Linked DNA regions of Homo sapiens: regions 2, 3, 4, 5, 6 and 7 are each linked to region 1. Evidence: promoter capture Hi-C in human tissues and cell types (Jung and others, 2019). All regions are on one chromosome and are shown on one strand. The core of a region is centred on a gene start or on the middle of the fragment in contact, and the rest is flanking DNA. Distances in the headings are between cores, read along the strand shown.

Region 1 (3,167 bases), core at 210-2,709:
GCCAGGCACGGGGGCTCACACCTGTAATCCCAGCACTTTGGGAGGCTGAGGCAGGAGGATCACTTAAAGCCAGGAGTTCGAGACCAGCCTGGACAACATAGTAAGACCCCTTCTCTTTAAAAAAAAAATTTTTTTTTTTAAATTAGCTGGGCACAGTGGTGACCGCCTGTGGTCCCAGCTACTTGGGAGGCTGAGGCAAGAGGATTGCTGAGCCTGGGAGCTCGATGCTGCAATAAGCAGTAATCTTGCCACTGCACTTCAGCCTTGCCAGAGACCTTGCCAAAAAAAAAAAAAAGAACACCAACGCCAGGCACAATGGCTCAGGCCTGTAATCCCAGCACTTTGGAAGGACGAGGCAAACAGATCACTTGAGGCCAGGAGTCTGACACCAGCCTGGCCAAAATAGCAAAACCCGTCTCTACAAAAAATACAAAAATTAGTTGGGTGTAGGGGTGCGTGCCTGTAGTCCCAGCTACTCCAGAGTCTGAGGCAGGAGAATCGCTTGAATCAGGAGGTGGAGGTTGCAGTGAGACCAGATTGTGCCACTGCACTCCAGCCTGGGTGACAGAGCGAGACTCAGTCTCAAAAAAAAAAAAAAAAAGGACAGCGTCAGCGTCTTTCACCTCCTCCGGAGTTTGGCGCATGGTAGGGGTTCAATCAGTGTTCTCTGGACAGTGTTTCAACAGAACAACCTTGCAAGGGAGCTTCACCGGCTTTCTCCCCAAGATGTCTTCATTCCAACCTACCAACATAACAGCAGCTGCCACTTATGTATTGTGCTACTGTGTGCGAAGCTGTGGGATCTGGTGCCTTTTATGGTAAGATTGTAGGCCTCATTTTACAGGAAGGAAACTGAGGCTCAGAGAGACTGGCAGGACCAAGATTAGACACTCGTATCCATCTGGCCCCCAAAAGCAGGATTTTAACAGCTAAGAATATGGTCTCAGTTCCACAGGCCCACCCCAGGGCTCCTGAACCCCAATTCGAGGCTGCATGCCCTCAAACCAGTTCCCTCACTCCTTCAGCCTGATGCTTTGGGGCATCTTGTCCAGGAGGCCTTCCCCCTTTAATCTCTATCTCTTGTACTTGTGACTATCTTGTAACTTACACTGGCGCCCTCCATACACAATTCACATATGCCCCCAAGGGGCCTCAGAATAAATGGTGGCGAGGAGAAAAAAGCATTGGCAGGAGGGGAATGGAGGCAGGCACCTGGACTGCGGGCACAGGCGGGAAAATTCAGATCTAGGCGCTTGGCCTGCTCCCCGCAGGGGCGCAGTTCCCGGCGCGGCCACCAGATCGCGCCCGGCTCTCTCGGGCGGGGCTTGCAGTAAGGCTGTGTGGCCGCCAGATGATGCCCGAGACCGCGGCTCCGCGGGTAGTGCCCCGACAAGGTGGAGCCCGGCGGGCCCGCGAGTCCGAGACCTGTCCCAGGAGCTCCAGCTCACGTGACCTGTCACTGCCTCCCGCCGCCTCCTGCCCGCGCCATGACCCAGCCGGTGCCCCGGCTCTCCGTGCCCGCCGCGCTGGCCCTGGGCTCAGCCGCACTGGGCGCCGCCTTCGCCACTGGCCTCTTCCTGGGTGAGCAGGACCTGGTCCCGGCGGGCGGGTGGGCGGGCGCAGAGTAGGGCGCGGCGTGGCTCAGGTTAATCCAACACCCTCTCCCCGTCAGGGAGGCGGTGCCCCCCATGGCGAGGCCGGCGAGAGCAGTGCCTGCTTCCCCCCGAGGACAGCCGCCTGTGGCAGTATCTTCTGAGCCGCTCCATGCGGGAGCACCCGGCGCTGCGAAGCCTGAGGCTGGTCAGCAGGGCGCGGGACGGAAACGGGCGTCCCTCTCGACCCCTGCGGGTCCCACGTGGCTGTGTGACCTTGGGCTGGGCCCTGGCCCTCCCTGGGCTTCCGGCTTCCCTGGGCCGGGTGCGGTGGGCGTTCCGAAGGGCCAGTCCCCCAGGCCACGCCCAGAACCGCGCCCCTGGGGCTTGGGACCCCCAGGGCGAAGGTGGGTGACCTGCATGGCTGGTGCCACCCTCTCCTTTCACGCAGCTGACCCTGGAGCAGCCGCAGGGGGATTCTATGATGACCTGCGAGCAGGCCCAGCTCTTGGCCAACCTGGCGCGGCTCATCCAGGCCAAGAAGGCGCTGGACCTGGGTAGGGGCACGCGGCCGGGATCCCGGAGGGCCGAGGTTTCCGGGCCGACCCCCACTCTGGGCTGAGCCCGTCTGTGTCCTGGTCCCAGGCACCTTCACGGGCTACTCCGCCCTGGCCCTGGCCCTGGCGCTGCCCGCGGACGGGCGCGTGGTGACCTGCGAGGTGGACGCGCAGCCCCCGGAGCTGGGACGGCCCCTGTGGAGGCAGGTGAGCGCCCGCGCCTAGCTCTGCAGCCCCAGGCGGGGGCGCAACGGCTGACCCGCTCCCTCCGCAGGCCGAGGCGGAGCACAAGATCGACCTCCGGCTGAAGCCCGCCTTGGAGACCCTGGGTGAGCACCGAAGCGGGAAGGGCTTTGAAGCCATTCATTGCAAACGAGGCTGCTGTGTGGCCGAGCTGTGACTGGGCCTGCCGGGCAGGTTAAGGGCAGGGCCGGTTGTCACAGAGCCCGGGCCGGCCTGGGAGGGGCCTCAGGGCCGCCGGGGCCGCGGACTCAGCCGCACCTGCCCTCCCTCCCCCCGCAAGACGAGCTGCTGGCGGCGGGCGAGGCCGGCACCTTCGACGTGGCCGTGGTGGATGCGGACAAGGAGAACTGCTCCGCCTACTACGAGCGCTGCCTGCAGCTGCTGCGACCCGGAGGCATCCTCGCCGTCCTCAGAGTAAGGGATCCACTGCGGGGGAGGAGAAAGCACCCTGTCGGGCCGGGTCCCCATCTTTTCCCTTGACTCCTCTTATACCCCAAAGCCCCACCCAGTCCAGTCACGTAGGCTACACCCCCTCCGGGGCTCCGGCCCCGGTACCCAGGCTTTCCTCCGCTTTGGTTCTGTCTCCAGCTCTGGTCACCTCCTGCCCGGGCACCTCCCTCCGAGGCCCCGCCTCCCGCCCAGACACCTCCCTCCGAGACCCCGCCTTCCGTCTGGGCACCTCCCTCCAAGACCCCGCCTCCCGCCCGGGCACCTCCCTCCCAGTCCCCCGCCTTCCGCCCGAGCACCTCCCTCCGAAGCCCCGCCTCCCACGGCC
Region 2 (3,167 bases), core at 189-2,688, 1.4 Mb after region 1:
GGCCTTAGCACACACAACACTGGCCTGTCCCCCTCCCCTCCCACCTGTCTTCCTAGAGTGACTTGGGGTGCTGCATCATGGTGTGGGGATGGAGGTGGGAAGGTTGCCCTGTCCTGTCAGGGAGGCCCCTGCCTTCTTCCTGCTGCTTCCTCTGGTCCCTTGTCACCATACCCTTGTTCGAAGCTGTGCTGAAACCCTAGAGGTGAGTGGCTGACCCCATTCTCTGCTGAGACTGGAGATAGGGAAGGGGAGGCTGGGTGTGACCATTCCTGCTCCCATCTGTATGCTTGCTGCTCTCTGAACAGCTTTGGCAGACCAACAAGGGCCTGATCCCATGGGTGCCAAAAGGGTGGTGACAGGAGGAGATGGGCACTTTGCACCTCTTGAATGCCTCTCTGCAGAGCCCCTTTGTCACCTACCCATGGCCAGACAGATCTGCCGCAGGACCGCTGGGGAAATCAAAGCACAAAAGCTTTGTCTGGGGTCTTTTTTTTCTTTTTTGGTTTTGTGCTGCAGGTGCCCATGACTTTGCCAGGGCTCAGACCCAGCGTCCTCAGGCCGTGTGGCCTCCACCCACTCCTTGGCGCCTTTCTTTAAAACACAGGTTCTGGATACTTTGTTCCTGTGATGAATCTTGGCATATCACCTCACACCTCTCCATCTAGGCCCCAAGCTCCAAGCCTGGTGGAGCAAATCCCTCCTCGTTGCTGGCTGAGGCCCCATTCCCGTCTGTACCCACCTCTCTGGGCTGTGCGGTGGGGAGATTTCCAGCCACTCCTCCCCAACACCATCTCCGCTTCCTGGGCCCTATCAGCAGCAGCCGCAGCTTCCCATCTGCTCCCCTCTTTTCTCCTCCCTTTCTTTCCCTTCCCCCCTGCTTGCTGCTGCCCTGGGAGGAGCTATTTTTAGGGGCTGCTTCCTGGGATGTTTTACTTGGGGCTGGTTACCATGAAGGAAATGTCACCAAAACAGTGGGCAAAGGCTGCAGGCACCGGGAGCCCTGCCGGGGGGCATGGAGAACAGACGGCTGACCCTTTTCTGGCCCTTGAGAGCAGCCAGAGTGCCCCCAGGCAGAGCCTTGCCTTCTTGGGGCTTGCTAGTGACCCCTTGGGGATTTTCTCTGTCAAAGCTGATTGAGGGCCTTTTCGCTATAGGGCATTTCTTGGAGCCTCTCGCTTCCCTTGCCTTGAGATCCAGAGGCCAAAGTGGGGCTCAGGTCTTTGTGTCACCAAGTTAAAACTGCTTGAGTGAGGGTTGAAGATAAGGGGAGGATGCTGGGTACATGCACAGAGCCTTGGGGGTTCACATGGGACCATTTCAGGCCCCGTCCCTCTGTATCACAGCCCCCAGCTAGTCACCAGGTGTACATGTGTGAGGGCATTAGAAACCATGGTCCTGCTCTTGTGTGTCGGATGGACTTTGCTTTTAATTGGAGACTCTTTGCATCTTTAGAGTGAGATTCAAAGAGGAAGGGATGTGGCATCACAGTGTCAGGGTGAGGTCGGTGGGATCGTGGCTTGGGATTCCCACTGGTCAGTGTCCCAGGCCCAGGGCTGTGCATAAGCAGCTGGGGAAGGTGGATTATGACATCAAATCCCTGCGATGTCCTTGTTTCTGCTCCTCAGAGTGCCAAGGGGACCAGACGGCGGCCTCTGCTGCTTGGGAAGAAGATGAAAGGCACTCAGGAGGGCAGCAAGTGAGGCCGCCTCCCATGGAGCCCTGAAATCAGTGGGGTTGCAGGAAGTTTCTCACATCCATGTTTAGGGTCATAGGCACAGACCTGCAAAATACCCTTTACAAAGTTAAGAATGTCTTTGAGATTGGAACTTGGGAGAGTCCTCAGTCAGAGTAGGAATGTGCATCCTTTCCCACGTACAGAGGATTGTATGTTTACGTGGCAGCAGGATCTTATTTGAAGCTAGTGCTGGCATTTGTGTTTTTTTTTTAGGAAAATGTCACTAAGTCAAGCAGGCCCATCCCTGAGAGGGCCATGGAGAATCTGTGGCCAGCCCTCCCTGGCCCCCTGACCTGGCAGAGGAAGGAAAGGGCATTGGAGTAGGCTTCTGTCTTCAGGCCAGAGGGGGAGGTGGTTCAGGGGCAGGCTTGGTGCACCCCTTGGCTGCAAGCTATCACCTCCCTATCTGCTTCCTCTTTTCTGCCTCCCCTGGTGCATCTGGTCACTTCTTGCTGCCCTTCCTGTGAAATCGTGGCACCTTGGACCAAGTCCTGAAGCACTTGGGCAGAAGGCGGGAGAGGTTGGGTTTCTAGGATCCTTGTTTCCCAGGGCCTGGCTCTGGCCTGGGCTCAGACCACTCTGGTCTAGGCAGGCTGCTGGGGAAAGGCTGGAGCTGCTTCTGCTTTCTGCTCCTGTTGCCACCTCTGCTAATGATGGGGAAAACCTGCAGAGGGCTGTGGTTGGAGCTGGGCTGAAGGCCGGCAGGGGTGGGTCTCTCCATGGCAGTAGCACACAGGCAGGCAGGAAGTGGCCCTGTGCAAAAGCGGGAAGTGGCAGTTGTCAAACAGGAAGGGGGGGGCTGGGCTGTGGGAGGGGCGGGGATGAGCCTGGTAGAAAGGTGCGTGGAGGAGGGTCCACCTTGGAAGGTCTGAGCCTCTCCCTAGTGGTTACTGGAAGGAGGGGTGTCTCAAGGGGAGACACCTTTGCAGCACCTTGAGATGCCGAGCCAGGGCCCTCCCACTGTGGACCAAGCCCATTCAGTGGCCTCGCCCTTTTTGGGGTTGGAGATGCTGCGTCCAGCTGGGATGCCCTTGCTTTTGGGAAAGATGCTCTAGAAACCACTACTCCATCCTGGAACCCCTCTGCTGCCACTGCTGCTGGGATGGACCCTCTGCTTTTTTGCAGCCGTGGGCCAGCCCTGGATGTGACTACAGGACAGGAAGTGTCAGGGGAAGAGACAGGAGACAACAGCTGGAGAGGCTGGGTGGTGGCCGGGCAGTATGTGGCAGCAGGAACGGGGAGAGCGGGGCAGGTAGAAACTGCTCTGTTCATTGAGGAGAGCTTGTGGATGGCAGGGTGCCACGGCTGCGAGGAAGAGGAGGGAAGCGGACAGTGGCACTTCCTGCGGCGTTCCCCTCTCTCTGAGGAGCCCCTGTTGCTGCCCATCACCTGCAGACTGTAGACACAGGTGGGCCCCGCCAAAACAGGGAGG
Region 3 (3,167 bases), core at 227-2,726, 1.2 Mb before region 1:
AATTCAGCAATGTGTTATATTCTACATATTTGAGAATTCCCCAAATTTATTAATTTTTATTTTCACTCTATTGTTATCAGAGAACACACTCTGCATGATTTACCCAGTTAAATTTATTGAGGCTTGTTTTATGGCCTAATATATGGTCTATCCTAGAGACTATTCCATGTTCTTGAGAAGAGTGTGCATTCTGATGTTGCTGGGTGGAAGGTCTACAGATGTCTGGTAGGTCAAGTTGGTTTATAGTGTTGTCCAAGTCTTCTATTTCCTTGATATTTTGTCTAGTTGTTCTATCTGTTATTAAGAGTGGGGTATTGAACACTACAACTATTATTGTTGAAAGCTTATTTTTCCCTTCTGGTCTGTCAGTTTTTCCTTCGTGTATTTTGGGGCTCTGTGGCTATGTAGCCATGTCTATATGTTTATGATTGTTTTACATACCTGACAAATTGACACTTTTATCATCACAAAATGTCCTCTTTTACTCTAGTAACTTTTTCTGTCTTAAAGTCTATTTTTTTCTGCTATTCGTATAGCCACTCCAATTTTCTTATTGTTGTTGTTTGCATGATACATCTTTTCAATTCTTTTACTTTCAAACTATCTGTATCTTTGAATCTAAAGTGTGTGTTTTATAAACAACCTATAGTTGGATTTTGTTTTTTTATCCATTCTGAAAATCTCTGACTATTGATTCAGTTGCTTAATCCATTTATATTTGATATTATTATTTATATAGGATTTACATATTCCATTTCAGTTGTTTCCTATATGCCCCATGTGTGTTTGCTTCCCTGTTCCTTCTTTACTGCTTCCTTTTGCTTTAAGTGAATATTTCTAGTGTAATATAATTTCTTTAATAATTTTTCGCTATATTTTGAGTTATTTTATTAGATTTTATTAGTGGTTAACTCATCAGAATCTCTTTCAGATATATGCTAACTTAATTTCACAAAAAATTTTAAAATTGCACCTATATAGCTCTGTTCCATCTTCCTCCTTTTGTGCTAATATTGTTATACACATTATATTTAAATATATTACAAACCTACCAATACATTTTATTATTTATATAATTTTATGTCTATTAAAGAAGCTAAGAGAATAGAAGAGAGTAAGCATATATTCATAGAGCTTGTTATATTTCCCTTTCTATTTATCATTTCTGATTCTTTTCATTTGTTCCTATAGATTTGGGTTACCATCTGGCGCCATTTCCTTACACCAATACAGGTTTCCTCCCACCCATCTCCATTGTGCTGTTACTGTCAAATATATTACATTTACATATAAGCCCAATAATATAATTACATACATATTATTTTATATAATTGCTTTTTTAGAGTTAATTATTTTTATTGTGGTTAACGTGCATAACAAAATTTACCATTTTTGTCATTATTGTGCATAATTCAGTGGTGTTAGGTACATTTAAAATTTTGTGTAACCATTACCAGTATACATTTCCAGAATATTTTTATTTTCCCAAAAGCAATTCTGTACCTATTAAACTATAACTGCCTACTCTTCTCTCCCTGGCAAGTCCTCACTCTTCCCTTCTGCTACCAGTCCTTGTTAACCTCTATTCTATTCTGCTTTCTGTCTCTATGTATTTGCCTATTTTAGATACCTCAATTAAGTGGATTCCTATAATATTTATCCTTTTGAGTCTAGCTTATTTCACTTAGAATAATCTTTTCCCAACTATATTGTATTATATATCAGTACATCATTCCTTTTTATGGCTGAATACTATTACATTGTACGTATATCCAACATTTTTTATCCATTAATCCCTTGATGGACATTTGGGTTGTTTCTACCTTTTGTCCATGTGAATAAGGCTGCTATGAACATAGGTGTACAAGTATCTGTTTGAGTTCTTGTTTTCAGTTCTTTGGGGTGTATACCTAGAAGTAAAAAATGCTAGATTATATGGTAATTCCATGCTTACGTACAATTGCTTTTTAAATTAGTTAAGGGCAGAAAGGAGAATATGTATTTATACTATCTTTTTATTATTATATAATTACCTTTACTGGTGCTTTTTGTTTATTCGTGTGGTTTTGAATTAATGTCTGGGGTGTACTGCTTTCAGCCTGTATTACTTCCCTTAGTATTTCTTGTAAAGGAAGTCTGCTAGCAAATAAAGCTTCTCAGTTTTTGTTTACTTAGAAATGTCTTTATTTCACCTTCATATTTGAAAGAGAGTTTTGCTGGATATAAGATTGTTGCTTGATAGTTTTTTTATTTTTTTTCCAGCACTTTGATTATGCCATCCTATTGGTTTCTGGTCTCCATTGTTTCTAATGAAAGCTAATTGTTAATCCATGATCATAGGGGAGAAGGGATGGGAAGTTGTTGGTTTAATCATTCTAGAGTTTCTTCTTGGGATGATGACAGTGTTTTGGAAAGAGATAGTGGTGATGATTGCACAATACTGTGAATGTTATAGATGCCACTGAATTGTACATGGGTAGGGGAAGTTTTTGAGGCTAGTCCTTTAGGTTTTTTGTGAACCCAGGAGAGTTCTTAGCTATCTGTTTCCATGGTTCTCTCTAGTAAACTTGCTTGCCTCTGGTGTAAGTTTTTGCTCTCATGGAGTTATTAGTCTCCTCTTAATTACCACCAAAATCTTCATTATGGAAGAAAGTACCCTTAGCCTTGAACTTCCCTCACTCTGTTTCAAAGACAGTTCCCCTAAGGAGAGCTTCAGAGCTTCAGAGCTCTATGTATTTATGGACTGCTCTCCCACTGAGAAAAACCTCCAAGCCACTGCTCCAGAGACTGAGGCAGATATGACACTCTCCAGTCTTCTCAGCTTGCCTCTCCCAGTGTGGACCCTCCACCCCATCATTCTTGAGCAAGAATGATGAGGGCCCAAGTGTTCTCAGTTAGCTTCACCTGTGGTAGAACTGCCACATTTGAGTTGGGGGGAGTGGGCAGAGAACAGTAGTCTCTGACTTCTTGGCTGACCTCACCAGGAACTTAACTTCTGCATCTCAGAGTCGGAGGGAATAAGAAATGTTGGCAGCCTGCTCTTCTGGGTAAGATGCCATATCCCTTGATTGGGAGATGAGGGGCAAGGGAGCCCCACCTTCTTAGCCACACCTACCTGTAATAGAGAGCTTCCTTCAAAGTAAGCTGCGGGGAGGAGGAAAGGAACA
Region 4 (3,167 bases), core at 363-2,862, 1.2 Mb after region 1:
TTCTCCAGCCTCAGCCTCCTGAGTAGCTGGGATTACAGGCGCCCGCCACCACGCCCGGCTAATTTTTGTATTTTTAGTAGAGAAAGGGTTTCACCATTTTGGCCAGGCTGGTCTCAAACTCCTGACCTCAGGTGATCTGACCATCTCAACCTCCTAAAGTGCAGGGATTAGAGGCGTGAGCCATCACACCGGGCCAATTAGTTATTTTTAAAACATTTACTTTACTGATTCATTTTCAAAATCGAGAACACTATGAATCCAAATATAAATTAAGTAATAATGAGTCTATCTCTAGAATTTATCTTTTCTTTTTCCTCCCTCTCCCTCTTGTACTCTACACATGCTGCAGATGTGTCTTTTCTCTATCTGCACTCCTACCACTGCCTGAAGGCAGCTCTTACTACCTCTTGCTTGAATGGATGGCTCTCCAACCCCAGTGTCTCACCAGCGCTCCAATCTATCTTCCTCAATACTACCAGGATTATTTTACCAAAATTTTATACATCAGCTTAAACACCTCTGTTTCGGGAGGGGAACATCACACACTGGGGCCTGTAGGGGGATGGGGGACAAGGGGAGGGAGAGCATTAGGACAAATACCTAATGCATGCGGGGCTTAAAACCTAGATGATGAGTTGATAGGTGTAGCAAACCACCATGGCACATGTATACCTATGTAACAAACCTGCATGTTCTGCATGTGTATCCCAGAACTTAAAGTAAAATAAAGTAAAAATAATAATAATACAAGATTTCTCTGTTTTCTAACATCCAATGCTTAGTATGTTCCTCTTCTAGAAATTATCCTGTAAATGTACTTGCACATACGTAAACTGACATATTTGTGTCATTCTTTGCCATGTTGTCTGAAACAGCAACAGATCACAAATAACCTTCCATAAGGGTCTAGTTTAATAAATTATCTACAACCATCAAGGGACTATTATTTAACTGTCAAAAGAAGAGAAAGTTCTGTAGATACAAGCAAGAAATGTTCCCCAAAACATGCAAAGGATGAAAAAAAAATCAAGAAACAGGACAAGACAGTATAACAGGTCTTCATTTGTATGAAAGGGGACTAGTTACTGCCAGATTGTGCACAAACTATCTCTAGAAGCATATCCAAGACATTGGGTTTCTTAAGTGCATCGGTTTCCTATGAGGAGGGAAACTGGGTGGCTGGAGTTCAAGGGGGAAAGGGAGACTTTTCACTGTATACCTTTACCTTTTAAATTTTGAACCAGGTGAATCCTATACCTATTCAAAAACTGAAGTTAGTTTTGTTTTTTTTAACTGATTTATGTCGTCTGAGTCCCTTCACAAGGGACACAATCCACCTTAACAGTCTCATTACTAAAGCTTCCCCATTCCCTAACTGCACATTCACACCCTTGTATCTTTGTATTCACTCTGCACAGAAGGTATTCCCATTTTCTCTGGCTGGCAAACTTCCTCATGCTTCAAACACTGCCTCTCTAAAGTGGAATGAACTTCCCTTCCTGCCTTACTGCCATATTATGCAAAAGGGCCTTTGGCCTGCTTTCATTCCATGTTTGCTCCTTGGCATCAGAGGCTAAGTTCACAGTCCTAGCCCAAGTCCGTCAGAAGCTTACATTCCAGCTGGGCACGGTGGCTTACACCTGTAATCCTAGCACTTTGGGAGGCCAAGGCAGGTAGATCACATGAGCCCAGGAGTTCAAGACCAGCCTGAGCAACATGGTAAAACCCCATTCTATAAAATAAAATAAAATAATACACATATATATATGTATTTATATATATATATATATATATATATCCTATATATATCCTCACATTTTACCAGATTTTTTTTTCTTTTTGAGACAGAGTCTCGCTCTGTTGCCCAGGCTAGAGGGCAGTGGCACGATCTCCAGCTCAAGCAATCCTCCCACCTCAGCCTCCCAAGTAGCTGGGACTACAGGCATACACCACCACGCCTAGTTAATTTTTATACTTTTTGTAGAGAAGGAGTTTCGTCATGTTGCCCAGGCTGGTCTCGGACTTCTACGCTCAAGCAATCTGCCTGCCTCAGCCTCCCAAAGTGCTGGGATTACAGGCATGAGCCACCTTACCCAGCCTTCACCAGATTTTAAAGGTGCCTTGCTATTCTCGCTCTGGTATTAAGCTCTTATAGTTTCTATACTCCAAGAAAAACAACAAGAACAACAAGAAATGACAATTTTAAGTATAATAAAATTGTATGTGTATAATATATACACATACACACAAAAATTAGCCAGACATGGTGGCATGCACCTGTAGTAGTCCCAGCTACTTGGGAGGCTGAGGTGGGAGGATGGCTTGAGCCTGGGAGGTTGAGGTTGTAGTGAGCTGAGATCATACCACTGCACTCCAGCCTGGGCAACAAAACCAGACCCTGTCTCAAAAAAAAAAAAAGAAAGAAAGAAAGAAAAAGCAGCAGCAGCAGCTTACACCCTTCAGAGACAGAGTTCAGGCCTCTTAAGATATTAAACATATGATGAAATAGCAGCATTATTCACAATAGCCAAAAGGTGGAAGCAATCCAAATGTCCATCAATGGATGAATGGGTAAACAAATGTGGTATGCACATACAATGGAATATAATTCAGCCTTAAAAAGGAAGGAGGCCGGGCGCGGTGGCTCACGCCTGTAATCCCAGCACTTTGGGAGGCCGAGGCGGGCGGATCACGAGGTCAGGAGATCGAGACCATCCCGGCTAAAACGGTGAAACCCCGTCTCTACTAAAAATACAAAAAATTAGCCGGGCGTAGTGGCGGGCGCCTGTAGTCCCAGCTACTTGGGAGGCTGAGGCAGGAGAATGGCGTGAACCCGGGAGGCGGAGCTTGCAGTGAGCCGAGATCCCGCCACTGCACTCCAGCCTGGGCGACAGAGCGAGACTCCGTCTCAAAAAAAAAAAAAAAAAAAGGAAGGAAATTCTGACATATGCTACAACTTGGATGAACCTTGAAGACATTATTCTAAGTGAAATAAGCCAATCACAAAAGGACAAATACTATATGATTTCACTTATATAGAGCATATCATATACTATATGTTATACAGTATATACAAACACTGTATGATTCCACTTACATAGAGTAGTCAAATTCACAGAGACAGAAAGAATGGTGGTTGCTGGGCTAGGAGGAATGAGAAATAGGGA
Region 5 (3,167 bases), core at 381-2,880, 1.1 Mb before region 1:
GAAAGAAAGACTATGGCTAAAGCTGCTCACTAGGTGGCTAAACAAAACAGATTCAATTTGGGGACATAACTATACAACACTTTTAGGTCAAAGATCCATATTTCCAGGGAGGAGGTAAGTGCCAAGTACAAGACAAAGCACCCTGAGCTAGTCTTGGACCTTGCCTTGTTAGAGGCAAGGAGACCTCAGCAGAGAGAAGTCCCTAGATGATTCATTTATCATCAAAAGAGAATCACCCACAAAAAAGAGGACCCTAGTGATAAGCGTCCAAATCATGAAACAGCTTTCAGAGAAGAAAGGCCAGTCTTAAGCATCTGCCAGTAGAAAAGCAAATCAATACCAGGTTGGGACCAGCCAAGCAAATTTGATCCTGGCTCCTACTTCTCTTCTCTTCCCCTATCCAACTCACCTAGCATATGGAAGAATAAAGGAGAAAGAAGTTACTCAGCCCACTTCTCCCCCTGTAGCAAGCTCTTGATGGTGCCAGAAGATGCATTACCCATGGATGAATTTCAGAGTTTTGATTATTACCCTAGACTATACTTATTTATAGCATAACCAACACTGTTTGGAAACTCAGGTAACCAATGAGAGGAGTTATTACTACCAAAGAGTGAGTGGCAGGCTCTGAGCACTAGCTAGGATATGATTCCAGGGCAGAAGATCTAGCCCTGCAAGTAGATTCACAGAAGCAGTTGTGAGAAAAAAAAATAAAGTGTGTTTGACTCCAAAATGAAACACTAAACTCATACTGTGTTAACAGCACCAATGGCTTTCTATAAAGTATCTGAGGACAATCCTGTCATTTTGTGACCCAAAACCCCACTGCAAGAAGGAGAAAGAGAACCACTACCTCGAATTTTCATGGCATCTTCAGGTCCAGCATCTCAATTGACACATCCCTACAAGGTCACTGGGTAGCAATAACTGTTCCCACTTGACAAAGGAAAAAACTAAGGATCAAATCTGACTTGACTTATCTAATGTCTGAAAGCTCAGGCAATGACACGATCCAAATTTTAGAACTCTTGCAGGTCCTGCTGGGGTGATCTAGCATCTCATCTTGGAATGTGCGACCAGTTGATTCCTATTAATTGTGGCTTCAGCTGAACTTGAAGAGTCCCATTTTAATATTTTATCACATTTGAAACTCCTTGTTCAGTGGTTTTACAAACTTACAGTAGTCCCCCTTTGTCTGTAGAGGACACATCAGGACCACTAATGGATGCCTGAAACCACATGTAATACTGAACCCTATAGACAGACCTTCCATCCTCAACTTATAATGGGTTGACCTACAATTTTTCAAATTTACTACAGTACAAAAATGATATACATTTGGTGTGCTCTCCACTTACTATATATAGTATGTATACTATGTTTTTCCTATACATTCAGACCTATGTTAAGTTTAATTTATAAATTAGGCACGGTAAGAGATTTACAATAATAATAATAAAATAGAACAATGATAACAATATACTATAATAAAAGTTATACGAATATAGTCTTTCTCTCTCTCACAAAATATCTTATTTTTGGACTGCAGTTGATCGTGGGTAACTGAAACTGTGGAAAGCAAAAATGCAGATAAGGGGAGCCTACAATATATGCTATTTTCTTTAAAAGACAGGATAAGGGGTCACTTGCAAACACTGGAATCCATTTCTCTAACATGATTGGAAAGGACTTCATAGTGAATACAAATGAAATAATTATAGCTGTTAGGTAAGGTTTGTAGATAGCAACATCAGCTTTGAAATAGAGTCAAAAGCAAGATAAAAACAATATGACCCCAGGCACAGAGGATTAAAGCCATGCTCCAAACCCAGGCTGGCAGCTCTTTATAGCTGGATGGGTTTTTTGTTTGTTTGTTTTGTTTTTTTTTACCCTTATATAATTTTAGGGGGAGGGTCTCTTTGATTACACTAAAGCAAATAAAATCTTGTGTACGAGGAATTCTTTTGGCATAAAGCACAAGCCCTATTACTACTTTTTTTGCTGGCATAAAATCTAAGAAAAGCCTCAAGGTGCAAATGATCTGCAGTCTATTTAACATCATGGTTTTTTATTTTTATGGGACCTCATTATTGCTCCTTACCCTAAATTATAGGTACAGTCTTGGCTCCATTTCCCACTGTGCTGCAAGCTCCAGATACTGTTATTTGTCTACATTTCCAAATACTCTTCAATACTTCTTCAATCAAACATTTGTCATCTCGTAGATGGGATATGTTGAACCAAGGCAAGGATCTATGGAACCCTTAAGTTAAGCCACTGCTATAGGCCCAGTTCTCAACCAGAAGTGCCATATGTCTATCAAAATTATGAAAGGAAATTCCCAGGTTGCAGCATTTTACAAAAATGGAGTCCTCTGCTCCATGTTAAACTAGCATTTAAATGTCCAGGTTTTCCCTGGAAAACAGATTTAGGGGAATAATCAAAGCAAACTCTCCCGGCCTTGCAAGAGACCTAGACAGCCAAATACAAGAAGCAAAAGAACACCTGGGAAATTAATCACAAAAAGATCTCTGCCTAAGAACATTGTCATCAGGTTATCCAAATTTAAGATGAAGGAAAGAATCTTAAGAGCTATGAGACAGAAGCACCAGGTAACCTATAAAGGAAAACCTATCAGATTAACAGCAGATTTCTCAGCAGAAACCCTACAAGCTAGAAGGGATTGGGGACCTATCTTCAGGCTCCTCAAACAAAACAATTATCAGGCAAGAATTTTGTATCTAGTGAAACTAAGCATCATATATGAAGGAAAGATACAGTTGTTTTCAAACAAATGCTGAGAGAACTCACCATTACCAAACTACCACAACAAGAACTGATAAAAGGAGCTCAAAATCTTGAACCAAATCCTGGAAGCACATCAAAACAGAACTTCTTTAAAGCATAAATCACACAGGACCTATAAAACAAAAATACAAGTTAAAAAGCAAAAACAAAAAACCAAGTACATGGGCAACAAAGAGCATGATAAAAGCAACAGCACCTCACATTTCAATACTAACATTGAATGTAAATGGCCTAAATGCTCCACTTAAAAGATACAGAACAGCAGAATGGATAAGAACCCAGCAACCAACTATCTGCTGCCTTCAGGAGACTCACCCAACACATAAGAACTCACATAAACTTAAAGTGAAGGAGTGGAA
Region 6 (3,167 bases), core at 493-2,992, 1.1 Mb after region 1:
CACCCCGTTCGCCCCTGTTGTTCCTTTTCAAGATTGTTTTGGCTGTTGATCTTTTTCAATTCCTTATGAATTTAGGATTAGCCTGTCAAATTCCACGAAAAGGCAGCTGGGATTTTTTTTTTTTTTTTTTTGAGATGGAGTCTCAATCTGTCACCCAGGCTGGAGTACAGTGGTGCAATCTTGAGTCTCGGCTCACTGCAACCTCCGCCTCCCGGGTTCAAGCGATTCTTCTGCCTCAGCCTCCTGAGTAGCTGGGACTACAGGTGCGTGCCACCACGCCTGGCTAATTTTAGTAGGGACGGGGTTTCACCGTCTTAGCCAGGATGGTCTCGATCTCCTGACCTCGTGATCCACCCACCTCGGCCTCCCAAAGTGTTGGGATTACAGGCGTGAGCCACCGCGCCTGGCCTTTTTTTTTTTTTTTTAGTAGAGACAGAGTTTCTGCACGTTGGCCAGGCTGGTCTTGAACTCCCGACCTCAGGTGATCCACCTGCCTCGGCCTCCCCAAGTGCTGGGATTATAGGCATGAGCCACCACGCCCGGCCTGAAATTGTTTTATTTCATTTTCAGTTTTGTTTTGTTTTTTTTTTTTTAATAGAGATGAGGTCTCACTATGTTGCATAGGCTGGTCTTAAACTCCTGAGCTCAAGCAATCCTCCTTCCTCAGCCTCCCACAGTGCTGGGTTTATAGGCATGAGTTACAATGCCTAGCCCATTTTTAGTATTTTATAGCTATAGTGGATAGAAATATAATTGATTTTTATATTGACTTGTGTCCTGCAAGCTTGCTGAACTAAATTTATTAGCTCTAATAGGTTTTTTTTTGTGTGTGTGTGGATTCCTTAGGATTTTCTATATATAAGATTGTATCTTCTACAGATACAGTTTTACTTCTTCCTTTCCAATTTGGAAGCCTTTTGTTTTATTTTCTTGCTTAATTGCCCTGGTTCAAACCTCTAGTACCATGTTGAATAGAAATGATGGGACTGGGCATCCTTGTTAGGTTTTGTTATTAAGGAGAAAGTGTTCGGTCTTTCACCTTTAAATATAATATTAGCTGTGGGGTTTTCATCAGGTTAAGGAAATTTTTTTTTTTTTTTTTTTTTTTTTTAGATAGTGTCTCACTTGGTCACCCAGGCTGGAGTGCAGTGGCGCAATCTTAGCTCTCTACAGCGTCGATCTTCCTCCTGGGCTCAAGCAATTCTCCTGCTTCATCCTCCTGAGTACCTAGGACTACAGGCAAGTGCCACCATGCTTGGCTAATTTTTGTATTTTTTGTAAAGATGATGTTTTGCCCTGTTGCCCAGGCTGGTCTCAAACTCCTGAGCTCAAGCAATCCGCCCACCTCAGCCTCCCAAAGTGCTGAGATTACAGGCATGTGCCACTGAGCCTGGCTGAGGAAGTTTCTTTTTGTTCTTAAATGGCTTTCTTTTTTTTTTTTTTTTTTCGTAAAAGGATGTTGGATTTTGTCAAATGCAATTTCTGCACCTTTTGAAATGATTGTTTTAGTTCTTATTGTATATCATGTTGATTGATTTTTGTATGTTGAACCAGCCTTGCATTCTTAGAATAAATCCCACTTGGTCAAGGTGTATAATCTTTTTGTGTATGTTAAATGATATTTAATGTATAATAAATTTAAACCTTTCTTTGCCCCAACAGAAAATGATCCACAGTCTATTTCTCATAAACTGTTCCGGTGACATATTTCTAGAGAAGCACTGGAAGAGCGTTGTGAGCCAGTCTGTCTGTGATTATTTCTTTGAAGCTCAAGAGAAAGCTGCTGATGTTGAAAATGTACCACCTGTCATTTCAACACCTCACCACTACCTCATCAGTATCTACCGGGATAAGCTCTTCTTTGTATCTGTCATACAGACCGAAGTGCCACCTCTCTTTGTAATTGAGTTCCTACATCGAGTTGCTGACACTTTTCAGGTTGGTTATCTATCATACCTTTCTAAGTTAAATGACCCAAGTTAGCTGAAGGTGAGACATGATTATATTATTTAATTACCCAGGTTTTGATGTTTACTGTCTGTCTCTCTCTGTTTAAGCGTAAATTCATAAGCCCTTTTCTGTGTGGTATACAGTTACACACATGGCTGCTCTATTCACTATTTTTTATATGTATTACAGATTACAGTTGGCTCTCCATATACATGGGTTCTGCATCCATAAAGTCACCCAACCTTACATGGCAAATATTTGAACAAAAAAATCGAACTGAACATGTACAAACTTCTTCTCATTATTACTTGAACAATACAGTATAACAAATAGTTACATAGCATTTACACTGTGTTAGATATTACAAGTAATCTAGAGGTGATTTAAAGTATATAGGAGGATGTGTATAAGTTATGTGCAAATACTATGCCATTTTATGTCAGCGACTTGAGAATTGTGAACTTTGGTATCTACAGGGGATCCTGGAACTAATTCCCACAAATACCAAGGGATGACTGTATATCATCAGGAAACAATAATGCCCTCCGCATACAGTTCTCTCAATGGTCTCAAGATTTTCATTGGTTATGAACTCTTCTATATTTACATTTTATTATTTTGTCTTGCGGAATATACCAAATAATTTAAGCTTATCTATATGTATTTTGGGATAATCAGGGTGAATGAAGTTTATAGCTCAAATTCCAATTTAATGTTTCAATACTTTCTGGTATAATATGTAATAGGAATTAAATTCAACCTAGAAATATCAAGAAAATATTGAGGAATAATATTAGGACTATAGAGGGGTTTTTTTTGTTTGCTTGTTTTGTTTTGTTTTGTTTTGTTTTGTTTGAGACGGAGTCTCACTCTGTTCCCTAGGCTGGAGTGCAGTAGCATGATCTTGGCTCACCGCAACCTCCGCCTCCCGGGTTCAAGCAATCCTCCCGCCTCAGCCTCCCAAGTAGCTGGGACCACAGGTGTGCACCATCACACTCAGCTAATTTTTGTATTTTTAGTAGAGACAGGGTTTCACCATGTTGGCCAGGCTGGTCTTGAATTCCTGACCTCAAGTGATGCATCCGCCTCAGCCTCCCAAATTGCTGGGATTACAGGCATGGGCCACCATGCCCGGACTATAGAGGGTTTTTTCCCCCGCTCTGTTTTATATATGTTCAGCAGCTTAAGCAATGAATTATGCTACTCTAAGTTTATTC
Region 7 (3,167 bases), core at 493-2,992, 1.1 Mb after region 1:
CAAAGTATAAAGTACAAACAGTCAAAGGAGAAACCATTTCTAGGTTTGGTGAGTAGAAAAGTTTTATAGAGAAGAGAGAATTTGGCTAGACCTTGAAGACTGAGGTTGTCGGGTTTTTTGGAAGGGGAGAAGAGGAAGGTTGTTTTAATAAATATTGTACATGCTAAAATGGATTTTTCTCTTGCTGAGGGAATGACACTACCTCCCTTACTCTACAAGGTCCTGTCGGAGTTGTTGATTACAGTGTACCCATCAACACCCATCCATTTCCCCCCATATACGAACAATGCCTACACTCACTGGCTCCCCATATACCTAGTACTACCTACACACACACATACACACACACACACACACACACACACACCCCTACCTGCATGCACGCACACACCCCTACCTGCATGCACGCACACAACAGACGGGCAGACAGTGAGAATGTATCCAAGGCCAGCCCAAATCTCCACCTCTGATACAGTGATTGTAATGCAGGGCAGGTAAGCCCCAGAACTGGGGCTTAGCCCAGGACGGTGCTTGGCTTCATCCAGGAAAAAATTCAAGGGTCAGCCAGTGGTGTGTCAGCAACTTTTATTGAAGCAGCAGTGTAAAGCATCGGCAGAGGTACTGCCCCTTGCAGAGCAGGGCTACCCCATAGGCAGTATGCCCAGAGTAGCAGCTCAGAAGCAGTTCTGTGGTCATATTTATACCCAATTTTAATTATATACAAATTAAGAGGCAGATTATGCAGAAATTTCTAGGAAAAGGGTGGTAACTTCCAGGACACTGTCATGAAAAGGGACGCTAACTTCTGGGTGTTGCCGTGGCAATGGGAAACTGACATGGCACATTAGTAGGTGTGACTTACGGAAAGCTGATTCCACTCTGTCCCTGTTTTAGCTAGTCCTCAATTTGGTCCAGTGTCTGAGCCCCACCTCCTACCTCAACTGGTTCAAGGTAGTGTGTAACACAGGCAGAACCAAATTTCTCTCAAAACTGATACAAGCATATAGAAAAACTCTCTTCCTTTGGACTCATGAGATTTTGGCTTGGAGTTGAGAACTGCCATCTTGTTACACTGAAATGGCCTACGTGAGAGATAAATTGAATCTAAAGGACAACAGAGACAAGCGGTGAACTCCTAGATTGAGTCATATTTAGATGGACTTTAGGCCAGGTGCTGTGGCTCACACCTGTAATCCCAGCACGTTGGGAGGCCAAGGCAGGTGGATCACCTGAGGTCAGGCATTTGAGACCAGCCTGGCCAACATTGTGAAACCCTGTCTCTACTAAAAATACAAAAAGTAGCTGGGCATGGTGGTGCATGCCTGTAATCCCAGCTGCTCGGGAGGCTGAGGCAGGAGAGTTGCTTGAACCCAGGAGGCGGAGGTTGCAGTGAGCTGAGATCGTGCCACCGCACTCCAGCCTGGGTGACAGATCAAGACTCCATCTCAAAAAAAAAAAAATTAGATGGACTTTCCAGTTAGGTTGAGTCAACTGAGTCTTTCAGAGATTTCAAAATGGTTCTAAGTATGAACCAAAGTCTAGCCTAAGCATGTAGAAGGCAAGTAGCCAAGTGACCACTTCAATATAATTTCTGATAATCCCTAATTCAGTGAGTGACCAATGATCACACAGGCTACCTTCACATCTGCAATCCTGTTTGCAGGTAACATAGTAAAATAGCAGGACTCACTACTAACCAAATGTGGCTTGCTGACAAAATGGTTAAGACCATGTTAATACAGTAACCAAACTGTTGTGCCTACAGAAGGCAAGAATTTCTTACATAATTGCTATACATATATATCTTCTAAATTGTAAAGAAAATACTAAAGTCAGCATGCATGCAATGAAAGTAAAAATGCAAATAGAAACTCAGATGTTCTTATATCAAAGGCTAATCACATTGCTTCTAGATCTGAAGTGTATGAACCAAATTTTTAAAGAAATGGTACGAAGCCAAAAGTACAAACAACATCAGAAATAATACACATAAATGAGAGCAAAAACTCTAAATCTGCTTTGATAAATCATCAGAATGTATCTTCTTCAAGCAGTATGTGAAACTTCAGTTTGGGAGACCATTTTGTAAAACAGCCTTCCAAATCTTCAAGTCCAAAAGTTGAAGAGAAGTCTGTCTTTTCAGTTACTACTGGAGAGGAAGAAAAGCCTAATAACTCAGTGACATCAACTGTACTGGTATTACAGTAGAGCTAGCCAAAAAGTATCTTTGAAATGAGCATCTACTTAGTATCATAGAAGTGCAGAACAGTGACTAGAGAAAAAAATCTAGGAACTAACTCTGATGAGAAATTATTGTTCCTGCACAGTAGCCAACTTTTAAAAGTAAACTATAAATAAGTAATAAAAGTCCACAAACCCTTTCTTAAATCCTTGGGGCAGGGTATGTTTTGGAATTCAGAATTTTATGGATTTTAGGAAGGTAACACTGCACTATATATTTTGTAGAACACCCAGGAGGAATTCATGTGGCATGTCATTAACAGCCTAATATTTCCATAGCAAAGCATATACATTTGTGTCAGACAAATAAATACTACTGACACCTTTACATCAGTTCAAATTTTGCTGCCAAATTAATTCATCTCAAACTTTTTAAAAAACTTCCAGCTTCCAGAGCTTTGGGATTTCAGAAATATAGCTTAAAAGATTATAGCCTACAATAAAGTCATAATAATTATGTTACCAAGTTTCAGAGGTATTTGGTATCCCAGAGGTCCATTCTGTAAAGATAATATTTAGCCACACAGCACTTGGCCACTTATATATTCAGTGTACTTCAAGTCTCTCCAACTTAAAAGCAAGATTCCTAATATGTTCAGTGTAGAAACATTGGAAAATACAAGTTTTTTTTTAAACCTCATAATTCTTCCACCTAAAGATGCCCACTATTAAATTTGGAGTGTCTAAATTTTCAGTCTTTCTATAATAGATACATTAATATAATTAGCAAGAAAATCTCTGAAGTTTTAGTTTATATTTTTGTTTCCATCTTACTAGATACATATAATGCCCTTTCAAGCTGAGAACTGGTCTTTCTTAAATTTTGGTAAATTCTCAGCCATCAGCTCTTCCAACCTGGCTTCTCCACCATTCACATTATTTCCTCTTTTTGGAACTCCCAGTTAGATGTAAGTTGGTGCCTCTCA

What was found. The method cuts DNA at HindIII sites, captures the fragments that hold promoters and counts their contacts. A contact is called where the count stands out against the background at its distance.
Region 2: a contact is called between a fragment that was not itself captured here and the fragment with the promoter of COMTD1 in region 1, in 1 of the 25 tissues and cell types used here (dorsolateral prefrontal cortex).
Region 3: a fragment that was not itself captured here is called in contact with the fragment with the promoter of COMTD1 in region 1 in 1 of the 25 tissues and cell types used here (pancreas).
Region 4: a contact is called between a fragment that was not itself captured here and the fragment with the promoter of COMTD1 in region 1, in 1 of the 25 tissues and cell types used here (spleen).
Region 5: a fragment that was not itself captured here is called in contact with the fragment with the promoter of COMTD1 in region 1 in 1 of the 25 tissues and cell types used here (mesendoderm cells).
Region 6: a contact is called between a fragment that was not itself captured here and the fragment with the promoter of COMTD1 in region 1, in 2 of the 25 tissues and cell types used here (dorsolateral prefrontal cortex and spleen).
Region 7: a contact is called between a fragment that was not itself captured here and the fragment with the promoter of COMTD1 in region 1, in 1 of the 25 tissues and cell types used here (pancreas).

What each region holds. Positions count from the first base shown.
Region 1 is chr10:75,234,249-75,237,415 of GRCh38, reverse strand. COMTD1 (catechol-O-methyltransferase domain containing 1) reads left to right here and starts at 1,459. Exons shown (of 7, transcript NM_144589.4): 1 at 1,459-1,581; 2 at 1,673-1,800; 3 at 2,044-2,149; 4 at 2,238-2,356; 5 at 2,424-2,478; 6 at 2,673-2,806. The coding sequence starts at 1,488. RefSeq lists silencers at 1,211-1,505, 1,541-1,680, 1,841-1,920, 2,051-2,340, 2,501-2,730 and 1 more. The HindIII fragment of the contact is 14,083 bases long and covers 1-3,167 here.
Region 2 is chr10:73,865,245-73,868,411 of GRCh38, reverse strand. The region is part of intron 2 of CAMK2G (calcium/calmodulin dependent protein kinase II gamma); the gene reads left to right. Among named protein-coding and RNA genes, the nearest start is that of CAMK2G, 7.7 kb to the left of the region's middle. The HindIII fragment of the contact is 6,019 bases long and covers 1-3,167 here.
Region 3 is chr10:76,469,139-76,472,305 of GRCh38, reverse strand. All of the region lies in intron 6 of LRMDA (leucine rich melanocyte differentiation associated), which reads right to left. Among named protein-coding and RNA genes, the nearest start is that of KCNMA1-AS1, 420 kb to the left of the region's middle. The HindIII fragment of the contact is 3,660 bases long and covers 1-3,167 here.
Region 4 is chr10:74,016,809-74,019,975 of GRCh38, reverse strand. The region is part of intron 1 of VCL (vinculin); the gene reads right to left. Among named protein-coding and RNA genes, the nearest start is that of VCL, 20 kb to the right of the region's middle. The HindIII fragment of the contact is 3,564 bases long and covers 1-3,167 here.
Region 5 is chr10:76,368,960-76,372,126 of GRCh38, reverse strand. All of the region lies in intron 6 of LRMDA (leucine rich melanocyte differentiation associated), which reads right to left. Among named protein-coding and RNA genes, the nearest start is that of KCNMA1-AS1, 520 kb to the left of the region's middle. The HindIII fragment of the contact is 6,210 bases long and covers 1-3,167 here.
Region 6 is chr10:74,136,878-74,140,044 of GRCh38, reverse strand. AP3M1 (adaptor related protein complex 3 subunit mu 1) reads left to right here. Exons shown (of 9, transcript NM_012095.6): 2 at 1,663-1,938. The coding sequence starts at 1,666. Among named protein-coding and RNA genes, the nearest start is that of AP3M1, 12 kb to the left of the region's middle. The HindIII fragment of the contact is 3,086 bases long and covers 200-3,167 here.
Region 7 is chr10:74,157,891-74,161,057 of GRCh38, reverse strand. All of the region lies in intron 1 of ADK (adenosine kinase), which reads right to left. Among named protein-coding and RNA genes, the nearest start is that of ADK, 8.3 kb to the right of the region's middle. The HindIII fragment of the contact is 5,336 bases long and covers 1-3,167 here.